4 separate regions of the Homo sapiens genome follow, and all the other regions are linked to region 1. The links are contacts of gene promoters, found by promoter capture Hi-C in blood cells and fetal thymus (Javierre and others, 2016). All regions are on one chromosome and are shown on one strand. Each heading gives the region's core, a stretch centred on a gene start or on the middle of the fragment in contact. The rest is flanking DNA. Distances are from core to core; before and after follow the strand shown.

Region 1 (3,180 bases), core at 418-2,917:
ACCCAGCAAGCTGGACCTTACAGAGCTGGAGCAAGACGGCAGACACTGGCCCCAGGGGGTAGGGGCAGATCCATCCATTTTCAAAAACGTGATCTCATTTAATTCAAGAAATAAAAAGGCAGTGGGTTGGTTAGAGTTTTTCTTTTCATATGTTGAGGGAGGGGAGCATATTTCCTACTTCCTTGGTAAAAATACTTATGCTAGGAGACAGACTAGCCAGGAGTGGTTAAAATCTCTGGTTGAAATCCCGGTTTCACCACTTACTCGCCAAGCCACCTTAGGCAAATCACTTAGCATTTCTGCACCTCGGTTTCCTCATCTGCGAGATGAGGATAAGACTGCCTTACACAATACGCTGTATTGTGCTGAGAATTAAATGAGATCGCATAAAACACAGACAGTTATTATGTCACCTAGAAAACAATGTGCCTCACCAGTGACAGCATCGAGGTGGCCCCCACGGTAGCCAGCGCCCGCCCCCATCCTGGGATCTAGATAACTGGGCCTTCCTGGCGTACGTAAGACGCTCTGCAAACACAGCTTCCAGCCCACCTGCCAGTACCAGCTGCCCGCCCGGCCCCCGTCCCGCATACGCATTCCGCGGCAGCCTGGACCTGGGCGCCCCGTCCCAGGGCGGCGGGGGAGGGGCGGCCACTCACCTCCGCTTATACTCGTCGCGCTCGCGCTTCACCTTGGCCAGCACGTTGTAGAGCGCGCGGATCTCCGGCGTGATGGTGTCGATCTGCACGCCCACGCCGTCGGGGTGCACCCACGACACGCCGGGGCCCTGCACGGTCTCCACGCCGCCGCCGCCCGTGCGCCGCACCTGCGTGTAGCTCCAGATGGTCCCGGGCAGGCGGCCGTAGTGCTGCGGGTGCGAGCCGCCGCCGGGGGGCAGGCCGCCCAGGGCCACGGCATTGGCGTTGGCGCCGGCCGCCGCGCCACTGCTGAGGCCGTGCCCGCCGCCGGGCGCCGGGGGCCGCAGCAACTCGGGCCCGGTCTGCACGGCCTGCTCGCGGGAGAAGGTCTTGTAGCGCAGCCGCCGCTCGCGCTCGCTCTGCTGCTGCTCCAGCTGCTTCTCCAGCAGCCGGTTGCGCCGCTCCAGCTCGTGCACCTTAGCCAGGAAGCAGCGGAAGCGCACGTTGAGCCCCTTCAAGAGGTGGATGTTGGAGCCCAGGTCGTCCCGCAGCGCCGCCGTCACCGGCGACGGACCCGGCCCTGCCCCGCCGCCGCCGCCGCCCCCGCCAGGGCAGCCCCCGCCGCCGCCGCCCGGCGGGCAGCCGAAGGCCAAGGCCATCTCCCCGAACAGCAGCGAGTTCACCATGCGCCGGCTGCGCGGCTCAGGGCCCCGGGCCCGCGGCTCCAGGTGCGGCTCCAGCTCCGGGCAGGGCTCCCGGCGCGGCCGGGCCAGGGTGGGCGCGGGCTCCAGCGCGGCCGGCCGGGCGGTTCCAGATGCGCGCCAGATGCGGCCTCCGCAGAGACGGCAGGACGGATGGCCCCGGATGCGGGCGCCGAGGCGAGAGAGGGCACTCGGCCGCTCCTCGGGACGCGGTGGAGGCCGCGGTATCTGCGCGGGGCCAGAAGGGTCGCGGGTCTCACCGCCCGGGCTGTCAGAGACGCTGTGGAGGGGCCGCGGCAGCCGCACGCAGAGGACTCTCGGCCGGCACTGCCCCTTCTGCGGCGGGCCCCGCCCACTGCAGACACTGGCCCCGCCCCCGCCGCGGCCCCGCCCACCCCTCCTCCCTCTGCGGCGTTCCCCGAGCCCGAGGCTCCGCCCCACGAGGCCCGCAGCGCCGGGCCCCACCCACAGACCCTCGGCTCCGCCCACCTCCGGGTTCTCCCGCTTTCTCCGCAGCATAGACTCCGCCCAGCTCCCCGGCGGGGCCACGCCCTCTCCTGCGTCTGGTCCTGCCTCCCCGCCGGGTGCCGATTCTCTGCTGGGGGACCCGGACCGCAGAGCTGCACCAGGGACCGGGTTAGCTGGAACCGCCGCAGAGCCAGCCGGGCCTCTTAAAGGGGCCAGCAGCCTCGGCAACGCTCGCTTTCCACTTTTTAGGGCGCTCCTCTCCCACGTCGCCTGCCGAGAGGGCTCCGTTTCTCTGTCCTCTCTGCCCGCAATGCCCCTGGCCCCAAATTCCTTCGGATGTGCGCGACCGCGGCTGGAAGGGCTGGGGGACCACAGTATCCGAAGGTGCATCGGCACCCCACCCCCACTCTAGCCTGGGGAGGCCCAGATCGACCTTTCGGGGATAAGAGGGCGCCCGTGCCCCACGCTGCGGACCCGGGGGTGGGCTCCTCGAATGCTAGCTGCGGGCCTTGTCCTCTCGAGATCGGCCCGGGCACAGCTAAGCCCGCTGGTTCCCCCGCCCACTGAGGAGCCGAGCAGCATGGGGGTTGGGGAGGCCGAGCAAGACCCTCCCGGGATGACACCCACAAACTCGGCCTGGGCCTCGCCTCTGCTGAGCTGCTCAGCACCTCCCCACCACCCACACCCACACGCTGAGATGAAGCTGACCCCGAGAGCTGGGGATTCATTTCACAGACATGGGGCTTAGCGGGCCGCCTGGGGCAGACCGAGGCAACCCGAGGACCCATTCATTCATTCATTCATTCATTCAAATGTTTTCACACCTACCACGTTAAAGGCCAAGTTCTCCAGTCTCTGGTGTCTCCTGAACCGTGTTGCAAACATTAGTATATGTCAGGCGCCATACTTATTTATTATCCCCATTTTACAGAGAAGGTCACTGAGACGTTAAGTAGCCACAATGGTCCAAAGTGCATGCTCTAACCGGCCTTCCACAATGCTGGCCTCGGGCCTCGTGTCCATTTCCGCATTTGGTCCTCACCGCAAACCTCAGAGGGGAGGTGACCCCCACCTTGAACCCCCACCTTTGAACGCCTGTGGCTTGCATTGTATGCACTTAACCAGATATGTGGCATGTTTCAGATACTTCCGACTGCATTTTTTACTAGCAGTTTAATTTTTGTCTTGTTATTAACTTTTGTGTTTGTTTTGTCTCTTTGTATGTAAGCTTGAGGACAGGCACACTGTCTTACATGGACAATGCCTTGGTGTTCTTGGTGACAAAGGAGACACGGGCTTGCCCTGGAGTGATGTGGCTGTGATGTTAGTCTGCTGTGTTTTTGATTTAGCCACAAAAGCAAACCTTCCCCATA
Region 2 (3,180 bases), core at 344-2,843, 320 kb before region 1:
AGGGCCGCCGCCTGACTCAGCCCCGCGTTGCCAGGGCGGACTGGGGGACAGAGAGTGCCTTCCTCTGTGGCGTGCGCCGGCAGGGCTGGGAGTGGAGGCCAAGTTCCCAGATGCCCAGGGTCGGAGGATCGCAGTGGGGGAGAGACCCAGGCTCCACACACCCTCTCCCCATTCTTAGCACGGCTTCCGCGGGCAGGCTGGAGTCTGAGTCCTGCGCCATGCTTTTTCTCAGGATCAGCTAAGGAGGGCGTTTAGTTTTCAAGCGCCCGGAAGCCCGGGAAAGGGGATTGTGCTTTTGTTTCTTGACGGGAGGAAGTTTCGAGAGAAGGAAGGGAAAGTTTTTCCTCATTACCCCCTCCCCTTCCTCATTGCCCTCATAATTCCCCTCCTAAGTCTCTTTGAGACTTGGTAAGTGCACGTTAAGGGGCGACAGGGAGAGAAACAGAAATGGAAGACCCAGAGTCACAAAGACTGACAGTTAAAGAAAAGGCCCCAAACACATACGCGGAGAGGCGGCAGGCTGAGGGAATCGGAAAGACAGTGGCCATGGGAACCCGCAGACTGATGGCTTTGGAAAAAGTGGCGAGTGCCCTGGAACCTGAAAGCTTGCAAAAAGCCAGTGTTGTTTCAGTCTCCCTTCAGAGGTTTCTCCCAGCACCCCTCTCCTCACGACCCAAGCACTCCTAGCCCAGGTCTCTCTCCAGTTCTCAGAAGACCCTCCCAACCTTGAAGATGAACTTCACAGACAAAGCCGGCTTACTAAGACAACTCCCATCTACGCCCAGCCCCCACAGGCGTGGTCCGAGGAGGAAGGATGGGTGGCCGGGCAGCCCCGTGTGACAGCGGCCTGGAGCGAAGGGAAGGGGCGGCCATTGACAGACAGGGCCCCTAGTGATGCCGCAGTCCCGCCCGGGACAAAAGGGCGAGGGAAGAAAGGGAGCCAGCTGTGCCGGGCGCCCCGCTGTGCCCGGCCTGCCGAGGGGCCACGGGTCTGCGGCGGGAGGCAGCCCTGCACTGCCAAGCGGTCCTTGGCTAGGCCAGTCGGCCCAGAGCCCTGGGACACCTGCCGGGGGACCCAGTCCTTATTTCAGTTCCCATTGGAAGGAGACTAGATGGACTTTTTGTGGGTTGTGGAGGGGAGGCATAGAACTCGAATAATCTTTCCTGGACAAATAATCTTTCCTGCACAACAAACAACTCTTCTGAGGTTATCCCAGGGAGAAGCAGAGGAGGTTTGGTTTTCCTTGGAGAGACTTTAATTGTGTTTGCACGCAGGGAGTATATCCAGTTCAATCTGTGAGGAAGCACAAATAGGTAAATTTCCTCTGAGAAAAAAGGGAAGGGAAGGAAAGGAAGAGGATGGAAAGATCGTGCGGTTTGGAGGATTCCTCTGATTCCAGGGAATGCGGGGCGTTCCATGCTGGCCTGTGCTCACCACACCAGCTAACAAGCCACTTTGCTGGATAGAGGTTTTCCCTGCAGCAGAACCAGGAAGAACCACGTCTCCAAGGGTTTAAAGTGGAGCCTGTGCCAGATGGGGGAGGCTGAGGACACAGGTGCTAAGTCTAGAGGAGCTGAAGAAATGAAATGATCTTATGCAGTGAGCCTGGTCTCCAGAAAGTCCCGCAGTTTTTGCGTGACAGTGGGTGTGCTGGGTGCGCTGATTGTGCTTTGAATGGCTGTGTAAGCGCAAGCATCTCTTAGTGTGACTGTTTACCCACGGGCCTTCTGATCTGAATGCTGTAGGCCATATATCTGTGCAAATGGGATTCAGCATAGATGTGCAGGGAGTGTGTAGATGGGTGTGAATGGGCAATATGATGGTGCAGATGAGAGAGGGCCATCTATCCATCTGTGAGCAAATTGTATCCGTTTCCTATTTGAGTTCCTGGGCTGGTCGGCAGGCACCCCTGTGAACCCCTCATCTCTCTTCCAGGCCCCAGACATCAGTTTCATGTCCAAGTTAAAGGTGAAAAGACCTTCCAATCTCCATCCGAGTAATCCAGGTAGGGAGAGGCAGAGATGCCCCATGGCCAGAGCAGGGGGAGTTGTGCACACCCACAACTTTGTTTTGGCTTCTTGCTCTTGAAAAATGCTTTCTCTGGGGGAGTTGCCCCTCTCATGGCAGGGAGCCACCAAAGAAGGGGTTTAAGAGCTCTCCTCTTTAAGCACTAAAGAGAGATCCCTCCCTGAGTCCGTTTTTTCCTATCGTCCGCTTGGCATTTAATAATGTTAAGACTTATTAGAGCTGGTAATGAAAACTGGGACTGCTGAATAGGAAACTGTGTTGGAGAGGGGTGTAATAGCTTCCAGGCATGGTAAGAAACTATTTATCCGCAATCAGTTCTCACTCTCAGAGTTTGAAGCACAAACGTTAAGTTGAAGGGTTTTAAAGCAGATTAAATTGAGCTTTTATTTCTGTGCACTTTCATCTCTGAACAGCTCACTCCTGCTCCCCTTGGGCTGATATTCATGAGGCTGTTCATATTTTTTTTTTTGCTCTTATCCTTGTTAAGACTGAGTTATTAGGATTGTTGGTGGTGAGTATTCTCAGACCGTTGCCGATAGGTGCTTGCCCCAGTCAAGCTTGGCTCACCTGGAAAGGGAAGTGGACAGTTCCTTGCCCCCATGCACTTAGACTCCCTCCTCTTCACCCCTTTCTCCGAGGATCAGGGGATAGACAGGCCGGGGACCCAACAGGGAGGGGATTTGAGGAGAGAAGAGAAAGGAAAAGATTTTCATAGAATCTGAGCTCAGAGAGATTCTTGTGGGGAATTTGATAGGGGTTTGCAATGGGTCAAACCGTTCCTCAGTGGGAGCTGAGGGAGTGAGTGTGAAGAAATAAGCAATAGTATAAAAAACAATAACAGCAGTGACAAACAATAAGAACACCAAAGCCGCATGCATCTGACAGTGCACCAGTTTAAGCCAAAACTGACCGGATCAGACCAGGGGCTCCGCTTTGTTCTCTAGGATGGAAAGGCCAATGAGGTTACAATTAATATGAAATATAGGGAAAAGTTACAAGATTAGAAAAAAGAAGTAGTAGTAGTGGAGGTAGCATTTTTCTCCAGGGGACGGGGCGGGGGGGAAATCCTGGGGGTGTCAAAGTCCAGGTGGAGAATTTGCAGACTTCCTGGGTGTGAAAGACCATCTGAGGTGGGGGGAGGATTGGCGAGG
Region 3 (3,180 bases), core at 190-2,689, 300 kb before region 1:
AGGACAGGGGTTAAAGCCAAAAGCAAATCTTAGCCCCAGTTCTATGGCAGGCTTCTGCCCGGCTGACTATGGCTCAGGCAGCTCAGAGAGAATGTGTTCTGCAAGGAAGGTTTGCTGGTAGAAGCCTGACCCCAAGGACACGTGGCTGGGCAAGGTTGTAGGAGAGCTGGCTGGGGTTGACATTTCATAAACATGAAGTTGCCTTGGGAGAAACCTTTCTTCATTATCAATGCTAAGGGAACCCTTGCTCAAACAAGCCAGGGTTATGCAAAACTCCAAAATTTCCTTCATTTGAGCTGGAGAGTGTGTGTGCATATGTGTGTGTGCATGCACGTATATGTGTGTGTGTACACATATGTATGTGTGTGTTGTGTGTGCATGCATGTGTAATGTGTGCATGCCTGTATGTATATGTGTGTGCATATGTATTTGTGTGCATGCATGTGACTGTGTGCACATAAGCATGTGTGTGACATGTGTGTGTATGTGTGTGTCTGTGTGTGTACTGCAGATTCACTGTCCTAGTGAGTTTTGTTCTGTGTTTTCAGCTCCTGCACCAGATTAGGACCTTCTTTGAGAGCAAGGACCAGTCAACTACATTTTATTCTGCTTTGATCTCACCTATTTAGTGCCAGTGCAATACCATATGCAGAACAGGTGCTCAATAAATGCTCCCTAACTTGAGAACTTCTCTGAGACACCTGAGCAGGAAAGGGGAGGGGGCAGCCAGGCCTCTGCTGAGAATTGAAGGCAAGGCTTTCCCTCCCCCTCCTTTCCACTTCTCTTCCTCCCTCTCTCCCAATCCCACATCTGTCTTAATTTGGGTGCTACTGAGGGGGCCTGAAAAGGGAGTGTCCCTAATGATCATGGTGTAGAGAATTCCACCCATGCCATTTACCTTCACCTTCTAAGGAGCTTCCCTGCTAGCAGGGCCAGGGAGGTCATTTGTACTCACCTTCCCTGGTGGTTTTTCCCCTGGGGAAAGAGAGAGTGGAAAGGAAAGGACCTTAGGCAAGTAGCCAGGTGGAGGGAAAACTGCTCTTGCCTGAGAGGTGGGAACCCTGCCTCTGAGTCCTGGTAGCAGGCAACTGTCCCATTTGGCCTGGGACTTTCCTGGTTTTCCCACTGAGGGTCCCACATTCCAGAAAAGCCTTCAGTCCCAGGCAGACTGGGATTGTTGCTCACCCTACCCCCTGGCGTGTAAGGATCAATCCCGTAGGTCCGTGGGGCTCAGGTACCTGTCACAAGGAACGGCCTCAACCTCCTCCCACCTTTGTTAAGGAATGGGTTGGAAGGGAAGAGTGACTGCAAAAGAATTGGGAAAAGCCCAGCGGGCCATGTGCTCGAGGACCTTACCCTTCGGCATCTGCCCCTTGCGTGGGGTGGTTGAGGGGAAGCATGGATGTAGGAGGTCGGAATTCGTCCACGTTTGTGGGTAGAATTGGAGCCCAGTGGCTGGAGCCTGGGGTGTCCTCCTTATCAACGCTCCCAAATTGGAGCCTCTGTCAGGGGAGGGGCCCCTAGGATAGGGCCAAATGGGCCTCCCATTTGGAGCTTGGCTCTTTGACTTAGACCAACTCAAGTTCGAATCCTGGCTCTGCCACTTGCTGGCTGGGAGGTTTTGGCCAAGTCATCCCCCTACCTGTGGAAGACAGGTGACACCACTCCAACCCAACTCTGCCCAGGACACAGCAGGCCTCTGACACACGCCACATTCTTCTCTTCCTTTCTGCTCTTCTCTTCCCCTAGACACCTTATTTTTTCTGGCTTAAGGACAAAATTAGGAGGGAGGAAAACGGAAAATCCAGATGCCAAGTCCTTCCAGGGAAACCAAAGTGGGGGATGATTGAGGCCTGGGAGGTGGAGGGAGGGTTGTTGTGGAGTCATCATAATTTAAGAAATCTGCCTCCCTTCCACGCCCCAAGATGAGCATTACTATTTCATGGATGATTCAAGTCTAACTTCCCCCTAGGAAGGGCTGTGACCCCTGACCCCTGCAACCTGTATTTACCACGTTCAAAAGCCCCTACTAGCCCCAGAGAGCTGACCTGAGCTGGGACCAAGGCACCAGGACTGGCAGGGCTATAAACAAGCCTGCCTCCTTGGGCTCAGGAATCCTGAGTGAAAAAACAGAAGGGGGCTCAGAGGTGGGGCCCAGTCCTGGCCTGTGAGCCAGCGGCTAAAGGGAGGGGAGAGAGGACTCACGGGGGTGGGGGACCTGGAGGATGAGTTAGGGGAGAAATGGGCACATAAGGAGCTATTTCCTCCCCTTGACCCTCGGTTTTCTTGGCTGTAAAATGGAGCAAAAGCTACTTTGCTCGTTAGGGTTTTGTAAGGCTGAAGTGAAATAGTGAGTGTAAGGGCTTCAGAGTGCTAGAGGGGAAAGTAAAAAGCACACACGCATGCTAGAGCAGGGGGCATAGAATAGGGAGGGGGCCAAAGCATGGAGGATTAGACAGTTGACACGTGGTTGTTAGATGATCAGTAAATCTCTGTTGAGAAATAAATACCCAGAGCTTGGCTGAAACAGAACAACGTGGGTCCATCCCTGCCCTCAGAGGCCCCCTTGCTTGGTGGGGTAGACAGGCAAACAGATATCCCTCCCTTCAGTGTAAGGGTTGCCATGAGGAGTAGGGGGCATAGGGGCTGTGGGAGAGTCCCGCTTTGGGGTCCATGAGGTGGAAATGAATTCGTCTTTATTTTTTCAAACTCACATTTCCTGTGCCTCTTTGCAGAAACTTTCTGATCTCTCCTCCCACCCCAAACTTGCCTTTGGTGTGTCCACGTCTCTTGGATTAGACTTTAATCCTCCTCCAGCTCCTTGATGGGCATGCAGAGGCTGAGAGGATCGAACTGGCCTTTCCCAGCACTTGCTCTGGGACTATCTGGAAGCCTGCACGCTAACTCAGCCCACTGCCCCGCCCTGTAACTGCAGACAAGAAATGACCTCCATGAGCCTCAGTGTTCTCATCTGTAAAATAGGGCTAACAACACCCACCTCACAGTGTCGGACAAAGCCACGTGTGGTGCCTGGCACACAGTAGGTGCTCAGAGTATGGGCCTGGAGCCCATGCTGGCTTTCTGGCTGCAGCACACAAGAGCCTGGGCTCCCTCGGCCAACTGGGCCTGGCCTTTGAAGCTTAGTGTGGCTCCTTATTATGGCAATTAATTACCCAGGGA
Region 4 (3,180 bases), core at 681-3,180, 280 kb after region 1:
GATCACCTGAGGTCAGGAGTTTGAGACCAGCCTGACAAACATGGTGAAACCCCATCTCTACTAAAAATACAAAATTAGCCAGGCGTGGTGGTGCATGCCTGTAATCCCAGCTACTTGGGAGGCTGAGGCAGGAGAATCACTTAAACCTGGGAGGCAGAGGTTGCAGTGAGCTGAGATCATGCCACTGTACTCCAGCAGTCTGAGCAACAAGAGCAAAACTCCGTCTCAAAAAAAAAAAAAAAAGCAGGTGACAGGCCAGGCACGGTGGCTCACACCTGTAATCCCAGCACTTTGGGAGGCCGAGGCAGGCGGATCACTTGAGGTCAGGAATTCGAGACCAGCCTGGCCAACATGGGGAAACCCTGTCTCTACTGAAAATACAAAAATTAGCTGGTCGTGGTGGCACACGCCTGTAATCCCAGCTACTCAGGAGGCTGAGGCAGGAGAATCGCTTGAATCCGAAAGGTGGAGATTGCAGTGGGCCGAGATCATGCCACTGCACTCCAGCCTGGGCAAGAGAGCAAGACTCTATCTCAAAAAAAAAAAAAAAAAAAAAAAAGCAGGTGACATTTGGCTATGAACGAAACACTCAGGGCACACTCCACTTGAATCTCTTCCAGAAACCTGCAGCCTCCCAAAAAACAGTCTGATTGGAACACATTGGAAGGCCTGGGGAAATAAAAAAATGGGTTGAATGAGGTCTACTTACCCAACTGCTGCAGGAAAAGTAGCAGATGATCCTCTGTCTGCACCAAAGCCCGGTAGCCCACTGAGTCATCCTTCTTCAAGAACACCTGGATATACAGCTATAAGCCACAGTCAAGACCGGTGTAGTCAGTGAGGATCCAAATGCCTCTGAGAGCACCAGACCCCAGGAGTCAAAGCCTGGACTTAACAGAGGTACAGGCCATGGCATTATTTGATGTCTAAACAATGTAGCTATTATCTGGATGCCAGTAAGTGATACATATTCTTAGGAGCCAACATAATGATGCTGGGGTCTCCCAGACCTTTCCATGGAAGAACCTGAGTACTCCACGGGTACCACGCCATTCATCCATGCTCTAATCACACCCCACAAAGTGAGCAGGAGGCCGGGATTAGACTTTCCGCTTTAGAAACGAAGAAGCCACAGCCCAAGCAGCTGAGGAACACAACCAGATGCACACAGAGGCAATACTGGGTAGTGATGAGGAGTCCAGGCTGTGGGGTTAGACCTGAATCTGAACCGCAGTGACACCTCTTACTGGCTCCGTGACTCTGGCTATGGTACTCGATCCCACCAGGCCACAGAATCATTTTAAAACCAGGTCAGGAACAACCGCTTCATGAGAGTGTTTGGAGGGTTAAATCAATTAATGTGTAAGTTAAAAGCTTAGAACAGTCCCTGGTGCACAATGATGAGCTGGCATAAATAATACCCGCCTTTACTGTGACTTCTAACAAGTCAGTGGCTCAGAGAGCACTAGAACACATGTTTAGAGAGCCTAATCCAAGCCCCATGGCTAAGACCTGGCCCTGAGGAAAGGAAGCCATGTGCTGAGAAGCCCACAGGACAGTCTGCAAAGAAAGGCTCTGCCTTACCCGCTCAGGCCGAGTGCCGCTCTGTTCCAGGCTAAATGTTATCGTGGTGTCCAGCAGCCGCCGACCTGTCTCCACGAGGTATAGGTTAATGGTGTAGGTCTGATTGAAGCAAGCCAGAGAGTCCTAGGAGTACAGACAGCACGTGTCAACTACAGGTATCCCCCGAAAGCAAAGCCCACCAAAGGAAGTCCAAGGATTGGGGGCAAATACCCTAGAGAAGGAGCCAGGCCAGAAGGGGAAATATATGCAAAGGAGAATAAAAGAGAAAAGCAAGCTAAATCCTAAGGCAGAAATAAGGTGCCTGAGTAAATAAATGAAATTACAACTACCATACTTGTCTTGGAAGCCAGTACAGAGTAGCAGAGACTTCTGAGAGAGAGGTAGGGCTGAGCAAGGTAAGACTGAGCAAGACAGGAGGCAGGGAAACGCTTAGATGGAAGCCACAGCAGGAACCTATGCCTCCAGCCAGGGGCTCATGCCTCTGCTACAGGGTAACTGCACAGAGTACTACTCAACTGTGCCAGCCAGGATCCCAAAAGAAATGGGGACGCTGAGGCCCAGAGGAGAAAGTGGCTAGAAACAGACTCTAGGGATTCTACCTCCTAATCTCCCGGTAAAATGAGATTAAGAGAAACATCATTTAATTTACAGTACTTAGGAAACCTCATTTGAAGCTGGGAACTCTAGGACCTGCTCCTAACCAAAGCTCTTCCCCCAACTCTCTTTGGTGGCCTCCTGCGTCTCTAGGTCTGGCATACTGCCCAGTGCCACACCATACCTTTGAACTAGACTTCTCCGAAAAGCTCCCCATTGACCCATCTTCAGAACTGCTACTTTTCTGCTATGAGAAAGAGAAGGACAGGAGAAAATTCAGCCAAAGGGTCACTTCCCAGTCACTGAAATGAAGCTTTTGTTTTTGTCTTCTTAGCACTTGAGAGAAGACAAAGCTCATTTCTCACCCCTGCCCACAAAGCCTATTCAACCCTTAATAGCCCCATATGAAAGTAAGGTCATCACATTAGGGTCTCGTTCCTGGGGAGAAATGGGGTGTGCAGAAAGCTCTATAGTTGAGGCAAGACCTCACTTCTCAACAGCCTCCTGCCCGCTGGGTTCAAACTGACCAGGTCAATGTGCCCAGACTTCTGATTTTCAGGGTTCCTAGTGGAGACCAGGAAGGAAAATCCCAAGTGCTGACTGTTGTTCTCAATACTCACCACTTCATTCCGACAGGCCATGACTGCAGCCACCGTCTTCTCCCCAGTGGTGGCAAAGCTCACTAGGGCAGTCTGGGGGAAAAGCAAGGCATCAGCTCCTAAATGGGACCAGTACTAGCCAGCTGCCTTACAGAGGGTCACCTCTCCAGGGAAGGCCCTTGGCCTTAGAGTTGAAAGTGCTCCCCACTTTGGAGCAGAATGGTCAGGCATTTAAGAGCAGAGGGAGGCCTCAGTTGCATCTACAGCTGAAAACAGAACTCTCCCTACCTCCAACGCAGGCACAGGTCAATCTTAAATCCCATGCTGCTTGTTCTTACTATCTATGGGGAAGCTCTCATTTATGTCCCCATATTTCCTTTGGACTAAGGAAGGCACTAGTTTT

What was found. The method cuts DNA at HindIII sites, captures the fragments that hold promoters and counts their contacts. A CHiCAGO score of 5 or more calls a contact.
Region 2: a contact is called between a fragment that was not itself captured here and the fragment with the promoter of IFFO2 in region 1, in 1 of 17 cell types (fetal thymus). The highest score is 8.8, in fetal thymus.
Region 3: a fragment that was not itself captured here is called in contact with the fragment with the promoter of IFFO2 in region 1 in 1 of 17 cell types (fetal thymus); the score reaches 6.0 in fetal thymus.
Region 4: a contact is called between a fragment that was not itself captured here and the fragment with the promoter of IFFO2 in region 1, in 3 of 17 cell types (fetal thymus, activated CD4 T cells and megakaryocytes). The highest score is 7.4, in fetal thymus.

What each region holds. Positions count from the first base shown.
Region 1 is chr1:18,955,009-18,958,188 of GRCh38, forward strand. It overlaps IFFO2 (intermediate filament family orphan 2), which reads right to left and starts at 1,668. Exons shown (of 9, transcript NM_001136265.2): 1 at 660-1,668. The coding sequence starts at 1,324. RefSeq lists silencers at 421-610, 851-1,110, 1,681-1,850. The HindIII fragment of the contact is 3,069 bases long and covers 1-3,033 here.
Region 2 is chr1:18,636,909-18,640,088 of GRCh38, forward strand. The region is part of intron 4 of PAX7 (paired box 7); the gene reads left to right. Among named protein-coding and RNA genes, the nearest start is that of PAX7, 7.7 kb to the left of the region's middle. RefSeq lists enhancers at 1-276, 277-894. The HindIII fragment of the contact is 1,981 bases long and covers 604-2,584 here.
Region 3 is chr1:18,658,623-18,661,802 of GRCh38, forward strand. The region is part of intron 4 of PAX7 (paired box 7); the gene reads left to right. Among named protein-coding and RNA genes, the nearest start is that of PAX7, 29 kb to the left of the region's middle. The HindIII fragment of the contact is 3,395 bases long and covers 1-3,137 here.
Region 4 is chr1:19,236,433-19,239,612 of GRCh38, forward strand. EMC1 (ER membrane protein complex subunit 1) reads right to left here. Exons shown (of 23, transcript NM_015047.3): 9 at 2,799-2,870; 10 at 2,363-2,425; 11 at 1,585-1,707; 12 at 710-806. All of the region lies in intron 1 of EMC1-AS1 (EMC1 antisense RNA 1), which reads left to right. Among named protein-coding and RNA genes, the nearest start is that of EMC1, 14 kb to the right of the region's middle. The HindIII fragment of the contact is 1,117 bases long and covers 1,373-2,489 here.